4 separate regions of the Homo sapiens genome follow, and regions 1, 2 and 4 are each linked to region 3. The links are contacts of gene promoters, found by promoter capture Hi-C in human tissues and cell types (Jung and others, 2019). All regions are on one chromosome and are shown on one strand. The core of a region is centred on a gene start or on the middle of the fragment in contact, and the rest is flanking DNA. Distances in the headings are between cores, read along the strand shown. Region 1 overlaps EWSAT1 (Ewing sarcoma associated transcript 1). Region 2 overlaps LOC124903515 (a long non-coding RNA gene). Region 3 holds the start of KIF23 (kinesin family member 23). Region 4 overlaps SPESP1-NOX5 (SPESP1-NOX5 readthrough).

Region 1 (4,268 bases), core at 1,476-3,975, 320 kb before region 3:
CACACATGTTCTAGATCCTGGGTGGCCTTCCTGCATCAGCAACCCTCCTATGATCCTCAGACAGCACTGCTGTGTGAACTCCAGCTGTGCGATTGTGCCATGCCCCCCCAGGTCTCTGGGCCTGCGTTCCTATCTCCCCTCTGCTTGGAAAGGTAATTCACAACAATAGCTCACACTGACGGGGCACATCCTGTGTTTCAGGTGCTCCACTGGAGGCTGCAGGTGGATTATCTTGTTTAATCCTCACAACTTCCTAATGAGGTAGCGCTGGTATTAACCCCTCCACCCTGCCACAGTGTCACTCGGCTAAACAACTCAGATTTGGGGGAATATGCTAGAGAAGCACATAGGAGTTCTGGGTTGAGGTCTCCCACCGGAGTTAGGGAATGAAGGATCAAATGAAAAAGGTCAGAGGAAATATGATAGTCTAGAGGCCAGGAAGGGGTTTGAAGATGAAGGGAGGAAAACTAGGTGATGAACTGGGGCTGCGTTGCAAGACTGGGCAGCTCCATCTTGGTTGACATTGGGGCTCCTCCCCACGCAAGCAAGGGTCTGAGGGCTTAAGGAACCCACATAGCTCAGGCTAGGTCCTCTGGACTGCGAGCTGCCCTGGACACCATAGATAATGGCTGTTGTCCAGGATTTCCTAGTCCCTGAAGACTGGAGGCTCTGCCATGTCCCTGCCAGGCTTACCTGAGAGTGTGTGTGTGTTTGTGTGTGTGTGTGTGTGTGTGTGTGTTTATAGGGGGGATTATTTGCACCTTTGTTGAGGTTGGGAACCTTGTGTGCCAAGTAGGCGTGACCACCCTAGGGTCCTCACTGCCCACTTCCCTCTAAGGTCTCCCCACCGCCGCCCATCCCTATTGCCTGTCTGCCCCTTTTTCTGGTGAGGAGAAGCTCCCCAAATCCCTTCTTCAGCTACTTCCCTCTCACCTGCTCCAAGCCCTCCCTCTCTCAGACAATTCAGCATAATTCCCCTGAAAACGTGTTTTTACAAAACAAAAGCCAGGAAGGGGAGGAGGTGTGTTCTGGGGTGCTTGGCAACAGCAGCCTGTGCAGCCAGCGGCTTGGCTGGATGATGTGGCTCACCCAGCAACACAAAATCCTCTGAGAACAGAACTCACAGAGGCTGGGCTCTCTCCCACACTGGGGAGGGGAGTGTCTGCAGCTGGAAGAGCAAACTGCATGCAATTGCCTCCAGGTTTCCCCATCCCATGTGTAATGACATCTTCATTTGATTAATGACTGTCTTCTGCATTCACCACTGAGTGTAAACTGTATAAAGACAGGGTTTTGTGTCTGTTCTGGTCACTGTGGCCTTAGTACAGAGTCCAGCACACAGTAGGTGCTCAAGAAATGTTTGTGGAGGAGGGAGCGAGGGAGGGAAGAAAGGAAGGAAGGAAGAAGGGAAGGGAAGGGAAAGGAAGGGAAGGGAGAGAAGGGGAGGGGAAGTGAGGGGAAGGGAAGGAGAGAGGGAGGGAGGGAGGGGAGGAAGGGAAGTGAAACAGTTTGAAGGAGGTGATGGGCAGGATAAGAGGAGCATCTGTAATTTCACCTTTCTCCGCCTCCTTTTCTCAGAGCCCCTCTTCTTGGGCCTGCGATTCCTCACCTGGAAGGGAGAAGAGTGGACTTCCTGCCTAGAGAACACCTTGGTAAACTCTTTGTGGTTCCTGTCATGAGAAGGTGTGCAGCTTAGGGAAAAAGCCTGTGAGCTCTGGAATCAGATGGAACTGGATATGAATTTCCATTTAGTGCTTGTTGGATTAAATGTGATGCTAGTAAGTACACTTGCCTAGTTGCTGCTCAAGAAATGGAGCTATTATTATTTACATCATAATTTGAACTTCATTCATTCAACCCATACCGATGAGCAGCCACAGGCCCTCCTTCCACAGGGCTTACCTTCAGAAAGTTCCACGTGTCCCTTACTTTCTGGTAGGCACATTCATGGGCACGTACCATGCTAAGGACCAGGGACCTGGAGATGAAGACAGTCCTGTCCACTGAGGGGTTCACATCTTTCCATAAAACGTTCTGACCCCCCTGTTTCTTTCTTCTCATCTCCTCCTCCAATCCCCCCTGGGCTGGGGCACCTCCTCTGCACTGTCCCTCTGGAAGCAGAGAGGAGTTTCCAACCTCCTCCAGTCCCCTGCCAGGTATCCTGAGCCTGAGAGCTCCTCAGAGCATTGTCTGCAGTTACCTCCTCACTTACAGCCCAGACTGAGATACTCACACTTGTGATTGCCCAGGTGGAGGGGAGAGGTCAAACTCTTCCCATGGCCTCCTTTCTCCTCTGTGAAAACTCCAGATCTTTGCTCCTGATTTTTTTTTAGTGTGTACCCTTTTGTATTTCAGCTTCTCCCAGCCGAAAGAATAAAACTGGTAAGAGGAAGGGAAATGCAGCCTCAGTAAGGAGGCCTCCATTCTGGAAGGGCTTCCCAGGCCCAGAGAAGGGAGAAAGTAATTTGGAACCACCCAAGTATTGGTGATGCCAGGCCTCACCCTACCCTGGGGATATTTGAATCTCAAAAAGGGAGCATGGGAATCTGACAAAGCACTTGCATGTATAAAGAACTCCTCCAAATCAACAAGGCAAAAACCTCATTAGATACATAGGCAAAAACCTCAGAAGAGCCACATCACAAAGGAGCACCTCCAAATGGCCAAGAAGCATATGAAAATATGTTCAATCTCATTAGCCAACAGGGAATTCAAATTAGAACTACACCAGGATGGCTGAAAGTGCAAAGACTGACAATATCAAGGGCTGGTGGGGATGCAGAACAACTGGAACTCTCCTATGCACTGCGGAAGGGGTAAATTAATACCGCCCCTTTGGAAGAACAGTTTAGAAGCATCACTAAAGCTGAATATATTCATGCCTACTCCGGAAATCCTGAGCCCAGGTATATATCTAACAGAAGTTTGTTTATAAAGGCACCAAAAGTCAATTACACAAGATACAAGAATGTTCATAGTAGAGCCGTTTGTATTAGTCATAAACTGGAAACCACCCAAATGCCCATCAGTGGTGAGTAGATAAATAAAGTGGGGGTAATTTAGACAATGAAAATGTGTATAGCAATGAGAATGAATAGAGCACTGTCACCTGCAACAACATGAACAAATCTCACGAAGGTGATGTTGAGTGAAAGAAGCCAGATACGTAAGACAGCACGCTCTGACGCCATTAATTTCAAGTTTGAAAACATGTAAGCCTTAAGTCTGTGGTGTTAAGAAGTCAGGACAGGGGTTGCCTTTGAGAAGGAGTGGGGCAAAAAGGGACTCTGGGAGTGCTGGTAAAATTCTGTTTCCTGATCTGGTGACAGTTATAGGCTATGTTCACTTTGCAGAGATTTATGTTGTACATAATTGGTTAAGTTTTGCATCTTTCTGTATGCATGTTATACTTCAACAAAAAAGAAGTTTACTTGAAAAGGAGGCAAGTAGAGCTGGGCATTGTGGCTCACACCTGTAATCCTAACACTTTGGGAGGCTGAGGCAGGAGGATCACTTGAGCCCAGGAGTTTGAGACTAGTCTGGGCAACATAAAAATATTTTTTTAAAGAAAATTACCTGTGTACAGTAGTGTGCACCTCTAGTCCCAGCTAGTCAGAGGCTGAGGTGAGAGGATCGCTGGAGCCCAGGTAGAGGGTGCAGTGAGCTGTGATCGCACTGCTGCCTCCAGCCTGGGCGACAGATGGAGACCCTGTCTTTAAAAGAAATTAAATTAAAAATAAAAAGAGGACAGTAGGGGGAAAGCAGTATGGAAAGACAATGCTCAGCCCAAAGGGGTGAGTAGGGGACTCTGCGACTGTGTTTACTGGAATTTAGAGACAGTCTCTGGGAGGGAATGGAAGGGAAGGAAGCAGGTGGGGCAGAGGGAGAGGTGGGGTTTCAGTGCAGGCCAGCCACAGCCTCTCCAATCCCTCAATCCCTTGTAGGAGTCCTGCAGCTAGATGAGTTCCTCAGAGTCATCATGACTTGGGCTGTGATGGCCACACCTTTATACCCCAGCATTGGTCAGTCACTGAATGTGCACTGCCCAGGAAGAGGAGGGATCTCAGGCCTGGCTGCGCTCTGCAGCTGAGGCCGTCTGAAAGGGGCTGGCCTGACTATAGCTCTCCCAGCATGTCCCTCCTTGAAGTGGATCTGGGCGACCACCACAGGAAGCCTGCCACCTGAGTTTAGAAGATTTGGTGGCCTGTAAAGATTTTTTTTCAGATCCCTCAGTCCCAGCATTCCTAGTCTGGTTAAACTCGTCCAGC
Region 2 (4,574 bases), core at 2,036-4,535, 340 kb before region 3:
TGTGGATTAGTAAATGTCTAGAATCTTTATACTTGCCTTTGTACAATCTTCTTGCCCAAACTAAGTTCCTGAGGGAAGTTGCGGGCAGTTCCTCTATATATCTCCTAATGAGAATCCATGATTTGGTACATAGTGAAAGCTCAAAAATATTGCTGACTTTTTCAATAATCTGTTGCTTTTTAATACACCAATGCAAAAGTGAATGGCTTAAGACAACCATTCTGTCATCTCTCATGAGTCCAAAGGTTGACTGGGATCAGCTGGGTGGTTCTTCTGTTGCACATGATAGCAGCTGGGGCTGCGGTCATCTGGGGACTACTGGGCTGAAGTATCCAGGATAAGTCACTCACTTCGCTGGTGCCTTGAGGGGGTGGATGGAGGCCTGGCTCAGTTGTGAAGCTGGGACAGTTGGACCTCCCTTCCTCCCTGTCTTCCTCTATCCATATATTCTCAAGGTCTCTCCTTCTCCACTTGTTCTATGTGATCTCTCCAGCACAGAGAGACCACACTTCTTACATAGTGACTTGAGGATCCCCAAAGCACAAAAGTATAAGATTTGAGGATTTTTAAAACTTAGACCACAAACAGCTTAGTGTCACTTCCAACACACTTTATTGGTTAAAGCAAGTCACAGGCCAGCTCAGATTCAGTGTGGGAGGGGATCACACAAGGGTGATGTGATTCACTAGGGGAGGTCTGATTTGCTAGGGAACATCTTGGGATACTAGCTACCCCTTGACTGAATGCCCAGTAGCATTTATGGAGGCCAGGGTCTGGTTGTCATTAGTGACGAGATTACTATAAAAAACCTCAGCTGTCTCTTCCTCAGACTATTTTCATCAAGAATAAAAAGAACACACACACACACACACACACACACACACACACACACACACACACACACACTCACACTCACACATACTCATACCACCTGGAAAACCACCATTCCAACCTGTAAAAAATATAAAAAAATCTCTAAGAGGGTGAAAATGTGCATATTATGAAGGAAAGATTAAACACCATCACTATTAGCTGTCCATTTTAAAAAGATGTCTTAAATACATTTTTTCATTTGATCTTGATTCCCATCCCCATTTTAGAGATGAAGAAACTGAGGCTCAGAGATAATAAGTAATTTACCCAAAAGGGTGGAGCTAGGTCTGAATAACCCCAAGACTTGTCCCTGATGCCAGAAAGAATTATTAGAATATGAATTAGTGTGGTGGCTCATACCTATAATCCCAGAACTTTGGGAGGCCAAGGTGGGAGGATCACTTGAGCCCAGGAGTTTGAGACCAGCCTGGGAAACATACCAAGACCCCATCTCTACAAAAAAAAATTTTTTAAAGAATAGGAATTATGCCTATCAATGATAGACTGGATAAAGAAAATGTGGCAGATATGCACCATGGAATACTATGCAGCCATTAAAAAGGATGAGTTCATGTCCTTTGCAGGGACATGGATGAAGCTGGAAACCATCTTTCTCAGCAAATTAACACAAGAACAGAAAACCAAACACCACATGTTCTCACTCATAAGTGGGAGCTGAACAATGAGAACACATGGACACAGGGAAGGGAACATCACACACTGGGGCCTGTCTTGGGGTTGGGGGGCTAGGGGAGGGATAGCATCAGTTGAAATATCTAGTGTAGATGATGGGTTGATGGGTGCAGCAAACCACCATGGCACTTGTATACCTATGTAACAAACCTGCACATTCTGCACATGTACCCCAGAACTTAAAGTTTAATTTTTTTTAAAAAAGTGCAACAAAAAAATAAGAGTTAGTGTTTTTGGTCTAAAGAAACTGAGATCCTGAAAGGTGAAATAGTCCAGGGTCCCTCAGCCAGGATCCTGATTCCCCTTTAGAAGAGAACAGATGCAAAAAAAAGCACAGGGCCTGATTCGTAGTAGATGTTCAGTAAACACAAGCCCCCATCTCTTCTCCAAATGAGATTTCTTCTACAGCTCACTGTCATTGGTCCAAAGAATGCAGCCGCTACACTGTGTTATTGGCAGGATTGTGGGCATGACTGATTTCCTTTCTGATTGGGTAGGAAGGCTGAAGGGCGAGTTTGGAAGGGCTCTGTTCCCTTCATCTCACTCCTTTCCCCACTCGCATTTCACCCAACAGTCGTCTGATTTTTGAGCAATCTGTTCCTGGAAAGCAGAGGAAAGTAACAGATTGATGCATCGACTGCGTGTGGCCAAGTGATTTATTTTTAATGTGACTAAACAAGACACACACCTGCCTATGGAAACGTAATCACATTGAATCATCAGGGACTTAGATAGCCATTTAAGCAAGGGAAAGACAGAGAGGAGACAGAGGAGAGGAGGAAGAGGAGGGAGAGAAAGAAAAGGGAGGCAGGGGAGCAGAGACAGAAGAGGAGAGATAAGAAGGGACTGGAAGAGAGGGAAGGGAAGGGAAGGGAAGAGAAGACTGGGCCAGCTCCCTAAAAATGTTTATTTCAGCAGCATCAGTGAAGCACCCTCAATTGGCCCAAATGCCTGTGGTTTAGCTTTGCTGATGCCTGAAATTTCATAATTAGACTTTCGTCCCTGTGATTTAACCAAACACAGTATGTTCTCCACTAAAGTGTAAATGCAACAGAAGTAGTGCATCAAACTACATCAATCATTTTCACCTCAGTGAGAAAGAACTGATATCTTTTATGAAAGCAGGAGTTTTTCTATGGGGGGGTTGTATTAGTCCATTTTGCATTGCTATAAAGGAATACCTGAGACTGGGTAGTTTATAAAGAAAAGAGGTTTATTTGGCTCATGGTTCTGCAGGCTGGATAGCATGACACTGGCATCTGCTCGGCTTCTGGTGAGGCCTCAGGAAGCTTTTACTCATGGCAGAAGGCAAAGGGGGAGTAGGCAGGTCACATGGCAGGAGAGGGAGCAAGAGAGGGAGGAAGAGGTGCCAGGCTCTTTTATACAATCAGATCTCACTCTAACTAATAGAGCAAAAACTCACTCATTACCACAGGGAGGGCACCAAGCCATTTATGAGGGACCCACTCCCGTGACCTAACACTTCTCACCAGCCCCCGCCTCCAACACTGGGATCACACTTCAACATGAGATTTGGAGGGGAGAAATATCCACACTATATCGGGGGCATTAAAACAAAGTTTATGGGAGTCACCAGTGAAGGCACAGAAAGGAACCTTGGGGGCTCTAGGGACTTTCTCCTTCATGGCTTTTCTTAATGATAACACCTACCTTTACGAGCATTTGTTATGTTCCAGGCACTATGGATGCGAGCCATTACATGTACTATTTCATTCCATCTTCCCAATGGCCCTGGAATTTTGCGCTGGTGTTCTCATCACTCTCCAGGTGAGGGAACTGAAGCCCAGCCTGTCGTCATCTGTCTCAGCACTCTGAAAGGAAGATCCAGTTACAGCAGAGTTTCTCGTGGAATGCCCAGCCTCACCAATAGTATCTTGCTTGCAGAAGGCACTCAGTAAGTATGTGCCAACAGAGTGAAGTGGCAGGGATGGGACATGAATGTAGACAGTCTAACTCCAGAGCCTGTACCCTTAGCATTTGCCACAACTTTCTCCCAGATAGTCCACTCCGTTCTCCCTGCTTCTCACCCGAATAGCATACGAAATTCATGAACCACTGACTTTGGGAGGCTAAATGTCCTCCATCACAGCTCCCTTCTCAATCTCCCTGGGTCAGTACCAGGAATTAGCCAGCCAGACTGTTCCACTCTGTACTGCTAGTTTTCTATGTCCAGATACCTTTTCCCAGTTAGTCTGTAATGCCTTTGAGGGAAGGCACAGCATCCATGCAGAGTCTATGGGGGGATGTATGAGTCCTTTTGAAATTGCAGTTTCTTTCTCAAAAGCAAGATTATATCTTTGTGTTTTCTATTAATATGATTGTGGTAGGTTTTTTTCTTGAATTTTATATCAATATCCTTCACCCTGCCCCTAGCAATAGCACGTGAAGGAGATTATGAAGTCATAAGTTAGGGGGGCATCAGATTGATAGCTTTTTGAAGATTGATAATATCTAGTGTGGGCAAGGATGGAGGAAATGGATACTCATACATTGTTGGGGAGGCTTTCGAGGAGGCAAATCATCAGTAAGTAACAGTGGCTGAAACAAGATAAAAGCTTTATTTTATTTTTTTCTCATACAAAAGTCTAAGCTAGTAGAAAGTCCTGGAAAGAAGGCTGGCTCGGCTCCACAAGGTTATACAAGGACACAGGTTCTTTCTGTACATTGTACCACCATCCCCAGGGGTGTTACCTGCATCACCTGCTGGAAGCTGACTCCCACTACCACATCTGTTCTCTGAATAGATTTCTCCCTGGGGAAAGCAGAAGTACAACAAACAGCGTATTTTAAGGACCTGATTCAGAAATTGCACACAATGCTTCTCATCAGTCATAACTTAGTTACACGTCCCCATGTAGTAGCAAGGGGGGTGGAAAATATATTCTCAACTCATACCCACCTGAAACTCAGGAGATTCATTGCTAAAAGGAAGAAAAGAGAAAATGGATAGTAGGGGGACAGTGAACAGTTTCTAATACAAACAGGAG
Region 3 (4,699 bases), core at 1,761-4,260:
GCCCCAACATTTAAGGGAGAAAAAAAGAACTCACAAAGGAGACTGAGAAAGAAGGGCTAGACAGCTAGGAGAAAAAATAAAGGCATGGGAAGAAAGGAATGGGCAACATTTTTTAGTGTTGTTAAGAAGCCAAGTAAGACAAAAGTCAAATAGATTTAGCATCAAGGAAGTGGTAATTTTGGTGACAAGAGTTCCAATGGAGTCTGAGGTAGAAGCTAAACTGAAGAGCAACTAGGATATAAGTAGTCAGCAACCAAGCCCAATTCCTAAATGATAAAAATTCCAAACTCTAGGCCAGGTGCGGTGGCTCACACTTGTAATCCTAGCACTTTGGGAGGCTGAGGCAGGTGGATCACTTGAGGTCAGAAGTTCAAGACCAGCCTGGCTGAGGCAGGAGAATTGCTTGAACCCCGGAGGCGGAAGCTGCAGTGAGCCGAGATTGCGCCACTGCACTCCAGCCTGCGTGACAGACTCCGTCTCAAAAAACAAAACAAAACAAACAAACCAACAAAATACCAAACTCTAGCTTGACAACAAAGTCCTAATCATTCAAAGACTTCAACATAGGAAGCAAAGCAATAAAAGCACTAGGAAACAAAAAATGAGAAATAAAATAAAAAACTCAGAATGGATGTATTTTTCCAGTATGACACAAAACAGAAGCCATAAAAGAAAAGACGGATTAATCTGTCTACCTGAAATTTTTTCCAAGCTGTCACAAAACATATACAAATAAAAATAACCAAAATGTGAAAAATAAAAGTATTTAAACTCGTATTTTGGATGAGGACCAATTTTTTTTTAATATAAGAACTTTCACAGATCATTAAGAAAAACGAACAACCAATAGAACAAAGAGGCAAAGAATATGAACACAGTTGATAGAGAAGGAATCAAAAGGGCTCTAAAATATATGAATAGACAACATTTATCTGAAAATAAATGAAAAATTTAACTACATGTTTTTTCTCACCAATTGATATGAGATATCAATAGATTGGTAGCTACTGAAAAGTTTGATAACACTTTGAGAATTGTGGAGAAATAGGCACTCTCATACAGGCTGGTGGGAGTGTACATTTGGACAGCTTTTATGGAGAATGATTTGCAATATCTGTGAAATGTTACACATATGTATACTCTTTGACTCAGCAATTCTGTTTCTAGAAATGTTTCCTACATATTTACCTGCATTGTATAAATTTCCACATTCATTCACTATAGCTGTATCTGTAATAGGAAAAGTTGGAACCATCCTAATGTGCAATGTAGGGGTGGAAAAGGTGTGATACTTTTCTTTACCCATCTTAAGGGTCACAGCTGACACTACCATAACAAAAAACAGGTTAGCAAGATAAATGGATAACTTATTGAATCACAGTTTTATGGGATGTAAGTGCCTTCAGAAATGAAGACCCAAAGACCCAGGGAAAGCTGTCCATTTTTATGCTTAGATGAGATGAAGAATGGACAGCTGTGTAGAAATGTGATTGTACAAAAGGAGTATGATCTAATAGTAACAGACTGAAGGAGGAATCCAGCAAGTCCTGTCTGTTCAGATTCTTCTTGGCCTCTCTGTGCAGCTTTCCTTCTTCCTGAGTGTAGGGCAAGACCCTTTTGGAACGAGGGTCTTATGACAAGGTACATCAAAGAATGTCTTTATGGCCAGCTCTTACACAAAAAGGTGGGGGAAGGCTAGATTAATATTTCTAGGTTTTTCTAGAATAATGTTTCTGGCTTGCTTGGGAGAAAAGGGGTTCTAGTTTCCATGACCCGCCTTGGGGAACAGAAATTCTGGTTTCTATTATTTGCTTTAGGAGACACAGAGGGGTGGGAGACAAGAGGGCAGGAGAAAGTCAGAGACAGACTTTGCTTTTAAGGCTTCTCTGAGGCACTTTCAGTCTTCTTTAGTTCAAAGCACTCAGTGTGCCAAAGAGCCATACTCTGGGGTGTCGTTTCCTGAGCACCAACAATATTGGCCAAGGACATTGTGACTATCCTTACCAGTGCTGTGGTCCTTTAGGAAGTTGAGAAGGGGCTAGAGTTCCATGAGAGCCCAGGTGTAGATGTGTATTTGGTAGTCATCGGCTTAGGGTCAAAGACAGAAGTGATATAGAATCAGTTCATCTAAGGCAAGAGTAGGTTCAAAAGGTTGCCCCTTAAGGGTAAGGACCAAATTTTATTCATCTCCGTAAGGCCAGGATCAAACACAATCAAGATTTGATAAAACAGGCCGGGCGCAGTGGCTCACGCCTGTAATCCCAGCACTTTGGGAGGCCAAGGTAGGCAGATCACCTTAAGTCAGGAGTTCTAGACCACCCTGGCCAATATGGTGAAACCTCATCTCTACTAAAAATACAAAAATTAGCTGGGCGTGGTGGTGCGCGCCTGTAATCCCAGCTACTCGGGAGGCTGAGGCAAGAGAATTGCTTGAACCTAGGAGGTGGAGGTTGCAGTGAGCTGAAGACTGCAGTCCAGGCTGGGCGACAGAGCAACTCCACCTCAAAAAATAAAAAAGGAAAAAAAAAAGATTTGATAAAATAATGTACATATAGGACAGAGCTGGAGGGAAACCCAGGAAAGGTGAATCAGAGAGAGAAAAGACGCCAAGATAATGTGGTGACTTGGGAGCCAGAGAGACGGAGCCTGAGACTTGGAGCAGGGCACAGCACAGGAATACAACACTTTTCACCAGAACGACATTCCGACCTCTGAATCAACCCTGGAAAGGCCCTTCCATTGAACTTCTTGTGATGGAGGAAAAGAAACCCTCAGTTTCGTCATCGCAAGGCGGAAGAGTTTAAATACCATACCTCAAGATCTCCCTCCAGCCCTGACACGCGACTCCGCGGCCCTTTCAGCGTCGGTCGCCTAGGAGACAAGCGCCACTTCCGGCAGCGAAGTCACTTCCGCGGAGGTCCTGCCTCTCCCTGCGGACGGGCGCTGATTGGCCCGTTTGAAATGCGCCAGGCGGGAGCTCACCTGGGCTCTTAGCGTCGCCGCCGGCTTCGCAGAGCACCGCGCCTTAGCCGCGAAGTTCTAGTTCTTGCTGCCGGTCCTAACGTCCCGCAGTCTTCGCCAGCCAGCCGTCCCGCATGCGCGTTTGGGCGGCGTGGAGCCTGCTGCCATGAAGTCAGCGTGAGTACGAGGCCGCCGAGCAGGGAGAGAGGGCGGACGGGGGCCGAGGCCTCGGGGCTGGGGGCAGGCGTCTCCACTCAGGCCGCGGCCGTACGCGGGCAGCGCGGACAGCATCCCGCCCGGTGCTGCTGCGGCCGCGACCCCAAAGTGGGAACCTCCACGTGTGGCCGCTCCGCGGGAGCCTGGGCGCGGAGACCCCTGCCGCGTCGCCCCCCGCCGCCCCGCCTGGGCCTCCAAGGGGCCAGGAAGGGTCGGCCCGGAGCCGGGGTTGTTTTACGCCGCACCCGGTTCCCGGGGGCGGGGCAGTCCTCCTCGGGGTCCCGGGACAGCCTTTCCCTTCTCCCTCGCTGGCTGCCGCCGCCTCCAGAGTGCAGTTGGCCAACTTAGTGCGGGTCGGAGGTGGTCTCGTGTGTGGAGCAGAGCGAGTGTGCTGGGCATTGGTTAGATGGGCTCCGTTTCTGGAGAGCCCTGGCACCGGTGATCGCCGCTAGCTTTTTTTTCAGCCGAGCACCCTGTCCTTGAGGCCGAGCCCATCCGCTTACACAGGCCAGTTACTTCTGCTGTATTTTGTGGCCGCAGAGAACCTCCGCCCACATTCCTAAGCTAATATTTTCGGCGCAGCATCATTCCTGGGTAAAGAAATATTTGTCGTGCAAAGGAGAGGATTGGCTTTATTACCATTTAGGGAGTCGTTTGCAAAAGACAACTTGTTTATTAAGAGGCCGAAGTCAAAATCTTTAGATGAAAAAAATTATATATAAGAAATATACGTTGAGTTTAACTTAAGCCCACCACAAAGTATTTTGCACTGAATAACACGAATTTGCTTGTGTTTCATCTGAGAATATGTTTGGAAAAATATTTTTAAACTACAGTCGAAGCCAATAATCTTACTTAATTTTAATGTGTTAAATGTATATCTAGCCTATAGATAAATGTGAAGGGAAAAAGATGAGATGCTAGAGAAATGGTGAAATCAATCAAAATAACTTTTTGATTGCCCCTACTTAAGAAACCAAGAAATTGGCAGTTTGGGACCAGATTTTGTTTGGAGACAAAGAGTAATGTTTTGAGCATTCAATGACTGGTTGTTCCTTGAAAGTACAGGCGTAACCCTTGACGAAAGAATGGTTTCCTCCATGTGCATTTTTATAGTGTATTGAAGTTAATCGCTTGTCAGTCTGTAAAGTGTGGGCAGTTATAATTTGTAGTGCCTCTGTTAAATTGTTGCTCAAGAAAATATGCAAGCCATTTTAAGTATAGAACTAATCAGAGAATAAGTAGGTAGCTTTGGTACCAAAAATGTATTCTAAAGCAAATTTTAATTACTTTTGGATTACGCATGCCACAAACACTCTGCTACTATGATTATTAATGTTATTTGGGATGCAGTGTTTTGCAACTGCTAAGGGATAATTTACAGATAACCTAGAAAGATTGTATAAGTTTTAGGTGAGGCTTTTGTATTCGTGTTGAACTGAAAAAAAAGTTATTATTATTTTTTAATCTATGACCAGGAGAGCTAAGACACCCCGGAAACCTACCGTGAAAAAAGGGTCCC
Region 4 (4,615 bases), core at 859-3,358, 380 kb before region 3:
CTCTGAAAATGTTAGTTCCATCTTTGCTTCTGTCTCTCCAGCCTCCTCAAGATGCAGAAAGTCACAGAGGACTTGGTTTGGAGAGCTTGACTATCTTGTGGCCTGACCACATCAGAAATAGACATATACTGAGCACGTACCTACTCTGGGCCAGCAACAAGCCTTTGAAGTAGGAATCAGAATCCTCATTTGACCCATGAGGAATTTCACACTCAGAAAAGTAATGAAATTGCCCAAGATCACAAAGCTTCAGAAGGTGCTAAAATTGTCTTCTGCTATTTCTTCTCCACTCCCAGGAAGCCATTGCTGTCTTTCCTTTCTTCCTTCTGAGAATGGGTCGGGGGTAGCGATACTGATGCTCATGATCCCTGTGGGGGCAGTCCACTCTGCCCAGAACCTCCCCAGGCAGATATTTCAGATGTTTGCCTCTGGTATCAGGAATCTTCCCTTACAGCCTCCTTTGGCCAAGCACCCAGAAAAAGAAGCTTCCCAGCCCCAACATCTTACCCAACTCCATCCCCGGGAGAGAGTCAAGGCTCTGAGCACTGCCCTGGCTTTGAGGATAACCCTGAGTCCTGGCTCTGTTCCACCCCCCAGGCCTTGAGCTCTGGAAGTTGACTGCCCCCCCTACCCCCATAGGTGTTCTATTGGACTCACCTGTCCTACCTCCTCGTGTGGCTTCTGCTCATCTTTCATGGGCCCAACTTCTGGAAGTGGCTGCTGGTGCCTGGAATCTTGTTTTTCCTGGAGAAGGCCATCGGACTGGCAGTGTCCCGCATGGCAGCCGTGTGCATCATGGAAGTCAACCTCCTCCCCTCCAAGGTACAAAGGTGGGGGATGGGGAGGTGCTTTTCCAACTCACCCCAAGGGACAGTTTGTGGGGTGGAGCAGCTGGATACCCTGTCAGACCCCCAAGGAAATAGAGAATAGTGTAGCTGCAGCCCCATTGCTATGGAGGAGAGAAGCAAAATGCAAGACCCAGTCCAGCCCTCCAGGAGGGAAGCTTTAGGAAGATGAATGGCAGGGCAGGCAATAAACCTCTAAAATCCGATTTTGGGGAGAACAGTCTCCTTCAGCTCAGTAAGCGTTTATTAGTGCCTACAGGGTGCCAGGCCCTGAACTAGGTTACAGAGAAATAGAGAAGGTTCTGCACTGTCCTGCTTTCTAGGGGAGCCAGCCCTTTCATTACAGTGCAGGGCTGTGTTGCTGGAGGTATTAAACCCTTTGTCTTTGGGAGGTCAGAAAAAGCTTCAGAATAAGGGAGAAGATGCCATATCAGGGTTTTGAGGGATGAATAAGAGTTTGTTGGATAGAGAAGACAAGGAAGGGTATTGCTGGCAGGAGGAACAGCACAGTAAAGACACAGAATTGTGAAAGGGTATACTGTGCTTGGGGGACCACAGGTAATTTGGCATAGCTGGAGCCAAGTTGCCAGGAGGAAGCCAGAGAGGTGAGGAAGGCCTGATTATGAAGGGCCTCCTGAGCTGGGAGACCAACCCCGCAGGCCATGGGGAACCCCTGAGCACGCTGGGAGGAGATGGTGGTATTAAGCTGTGACCATTAATATTCTAGTTAGATTTCTTTAGTTGCTCTGTGGAAGGTAGCTTGGAGGGGGCTTGTGGGGAGGTTCTTGCAAATACAAAGATGAGAGTTCATGAGGGCCTTGACACTGAGGCAGTGGCCATGGGATGGAGGCAGGTGCACATCACAGAAAGACTCAAGAAGCAACTGGTTATGTTTTGCGGCAACAGAGAGGATGGAGTCTAGGACGTCTCCCAGGTGTCTGAGAAAAGGAAGGCAGTTCTAGGCGGGCTCAGCTCTGGACACACTGCGTTAGAGGACCTGGGAGGCTGAAGAATGAGGCTGTGCTCTGTGTCTAGGCTCTGGCATCCAACAGCCTCAGCTGCATTCAGATCCCACGGTTTCTTACCCAGTGGCCTTGGGAAGTTATTTAACCTCTCTGAGCCTCCTCTTCTTGTCCCTAAAGTAGAGAGAAAATAATATCCACGTCATACAACTGCTGTGAGGCCTAGAGATAACACAGTGCTCCAAAGCAATTGTCTGGAAAGATGTTGTTATCCAAGGAGAGATGCCCATTGATGGTTAGAATGCTAGCCACACTCTGGCTGAAGTTCCAAGAAAGGGCTGGAGTAGCCAGGGAGGCATCACAGGGATACGTCACAGAGGGTCCACTAAAAAGCAGTGCTTACACCCTGAGAGGCAGGGTAAAACCAGGGGCCCCAATTCAGACACAGCCTGGCTGCCCCCTCTAGGATTGTTGCCCACTTCCAGATTGGCAGGTTGGCTGCTGAGGTGGGCCACCACTCAGAAGCACAGAAGAGTGTCATGTCTCGGGGCATGCCTGTTTTATGGAGGAGGAGGGCAGCCCAGCTTCTGCCCTCTTGTCCTGTAGCCCCTGGTGGCTTTGGGCCTGCAGGAATGATGCAGATCTCCTTCCTCTTTCCCAGGTCACTCATCTCCTCATCAAGCGGCCCCCTTTTTTTCACTATAGACCTGGTGACTACTTGTATCTGAACATCCCCACCATTGCTCGCTATGAGTGGCACCCCTTCACCATCAGCAGTGCTCCTGAGCAGAAAGGTAATGGCCACCTCCTCCAGTCACTCTGCACATATTCACTGAGTTCCTACCGTGGGCCAAGTACAGGCTGGAAACTCGGAACACAGCACTGAACAAGGCCAGAAACACAAAGTCAGCCTCAAAAAGCTCTCTTTGAAGTGGGAGCAGGCATGCAGACACCGATTGGCATGGCAAGGGCTGTACCAGCTGCACTGAAGTCTTACAGGGAGGGCCTGGCTTGGTGGAGAGAAGCCTTTGCAGACACAGGGGCATTCAGCTGGACTTTGAATGGTTAGCAGGAGTTTACCAGATAGGGAAGGAGATGGGGAGGAGGCAGAGGGAAAAGCAGAAGTAAAAACATGAGGACCTGGAAACTCAGAAGAGTCTTCTGTAACTAGAGCTATGGGGGGTGGCGGGGGGTAGGCAGGTGGAGTAGCAAGGAAAGAAGGGAGGGACATACAGAGAGAGAAAAAGAGCATGAAAGGCAGGTGATGTGGCTGGCAAAGCCAGTTAGAGCTAGGATGGGACTAAGGAGGACTTCAGAAGCAAAGTTGGAATCCAGATGGATGGAGCAGCCAATTGGGAGCCAGGAATGGTTCTTAAGCAGAGGAGTAGCCAGCTCAGGAGAGGATATAGGCATTTTTAAGAGGGCTGCGATGGGAGACCAGGCTTCCCTACTCCCACCTGGACTTGGGCCTTATAGAGCCCCAAGGCAGCAGAATCCCTCACACCCTTCTCCAGCCCTGAACTATTCCCACTGCTTTTTGGGTTCCCAGCACACACAGAACAGTTCAGCTGATGCTTTGCTCAGCTGTCCTCTGACTCTCACCCGTGCACGTGCCTTCCTTCTGGTCCCAGGCTGTTTTTAGAGCTGCTACCTGGACCTCTGCCCTTCTGGCCAGGCCAATGATTGGCCTTCCCACCACGAGAGGTGCCTCCAAGTATGACAAGTGTGGCTTGCACTGACATTTCCAACAGGGAAGGCCTTGAGTGACCTATTACAGTAAGACCCTGGCTTGGCTTCATGAGGGGTATCCAGCCCTGGGTGCTGGGGGTTCTCTGACTCATCCTGGTTACAAGCTTTAGTGTCACTCAGGATGCCTCCCAGACCCAGCCCAGCAGGACCCCTGGCCCAGATCCCTCAGCTCACGATGTAGACCCAAGGCCAGGGTTTCCCCATGTGGGGCTGCATACCCCCTACCTTGGAATCACCTGAATTGTGCCCTCAATGTACCACGGAACAAAGTTAGAGGTTGGAGAGGGTGAAGCTATTTTCTCCCTATTTTTTTCCTTTTCTTTTCTACTTTGTAAAGAACGTCTATGCTCTCAGAGAACTCAGACAATATCAAAATATGTACAGAAGAAAATGAGAATCCTTCAAATAATTTTATCCAAGGAAAACCATTGCCAATTATTTGGTGAATAGGCTTCCAGCTCTCTCTCTCTATCTATCTATCTACATGGCTAATCAGATGGAGAGATTTTGTATACATGGGCTCACACTACAGGCAGTGTTTCATAGCAGCACACTTTTTCTTAGTGAACAGTATGTCATGGAGATCTTTGCATATCAGTGAATATACAGCTTTTCCTTTTTGTGGCTGCATGGTATTCCAGTGTGTGGATACTAATATGGTTATTGACTATTATTAATATTATATGGGCGTGTCATGTATTTCACCAATTCTTTTTCTCCCCTAACTTTCCAAACTTGTTATATTTCACCAGTTCTTTTTTTTTTAGAGTCTCATTCTGTCACCCAAGCTGGAGTGCAGTGGTGTGATCTTGGCTCACTGCAGCCTCCGCCTCCCGGGTTCTTCTGCTTTAGCCTCCTGAGTAGCTGGGATTACAGGCACGTGCCACCATGCATGGCTAATTTTTTTGTATTTTTGTATTTTTAGTAGAGTCTGGATTTCACCACGTTGGCCAGGCTGGTCTTGAACTCCTGACCTCAGGTGATCCACCCACCTTTTCCAAAGTGCTGGGATTACAGGCATAAGCCACTGTGCCCCACCTTCACCAGTTCTTGAAGGGA

What was found. The method cuts DNA at HindIII sites, captures the fragments that hold promoters and counts their contacts. A contact is called where the count stands out against the background at its distance.
Region 1: a contact is called between a fragment that was not itself captured here and the fragment with the promoter of KIF23 in region 3, in 1 of the 25 tissues and cell types used here (mesenchymal stem cells).
Region 2: a contact is called between a fragment that was not itself captured here and the fragment with the promoter of KIF23 in region 3, in 4 of the 25 tissues and cell types used here (IMR-90 fibroblasts, adrenal gland, bladder and 1 more).
Region 4: a fragment that was not itself captured here is called in contact with the fragment with the promoter of KIF23 in region 3 in 5 of the 25 tissues and cell types used here (H1 embryonic stem cells, IMR-90 fibroblasts, aorta and 2 more).

Annotation. Positions count from the first base shown.
Region 1 is chr15:69,089,337-69,093,604 of GRCh38, forward strand. It overlaps EWSAT1 (Ewing sarcoma associated transcript 1), which reads left to right. Exons shown (of 4, transcript NR_026949.1): 2 at 1,579-1,778; 3 at 2,356-3,031. Among named protein-coding and RNA genes, the nearest start is that of EWSAT1, 11 kb to the left of the region's middle. RefSeq lists enhancers at 355-856, 4,097-4,268. The HindIII fragment of the contact is 7,179 bases long and covers 1-4,268 here.
Region 2 is chr15:69,068,076-69,072,649 of GRCh38, forward strand. LOC124903515 (a long non-coding RNA gene) reads right to left here. Exons shown (of 2, transcript XR_007064692.1): 1 at 3,238-4,574; 2 at 594-2,166. Among named protein-coding and RNA genes, the nearest start is that of EWSAT1, 10 kb to the right of the region's middle. The HindIII fragment of the contact is 5,134 bases long and covers 719-4,574 here.
Region 3 is chr15:69,411,339-69,416,037 of GRCh38, forward strand. It overlaps KIF23 (kinesin family member 23), which reads left to right and starts at 3,011. Exons shown (of 24, transcript NM_001367805.3): 1 at 3,011-3,138; 2 at 4,656-4,699. The coding sequence starts at 3,128. It overlaps KIF23-AS1 (KIF23 and PAQR5 antisense RNA 1), which reads right to left and starts at 3,691. Exons shown (of 2, transcript NR_132971.1): 1 at 2,814-3,691. RefSeq lists silencers at 3,181-3,300, 3,331-3,410. The HindIII fragment of the contact is 14,046 bases long and covers 1-4,699 here.
Region 4 is chr15:69,036,389-69,041,003 of GRCh38, forward strand. SPESP1-NOX5 (SPESP1-NOX5 readthrough) reads left to right here. Exons shown (of 17, transcript NR_033672.2): 9 at 640-822; 10 at 2,469-2,601. NOX5 (NADPH oxidase 5) reads left to right here. Exons shown (of 16, transcript NM_024505.4): 8 at 640-822; 9 at 2,469-2,601. Among named protein-coding and RNA genes, the nearest start is that of NOX5, 24 kb to the left of the region's middle. RefSeq lists an enhancer at 1-892. The HindIII fragment of the contact is 4,814 bases long and covers 1-4,515 here.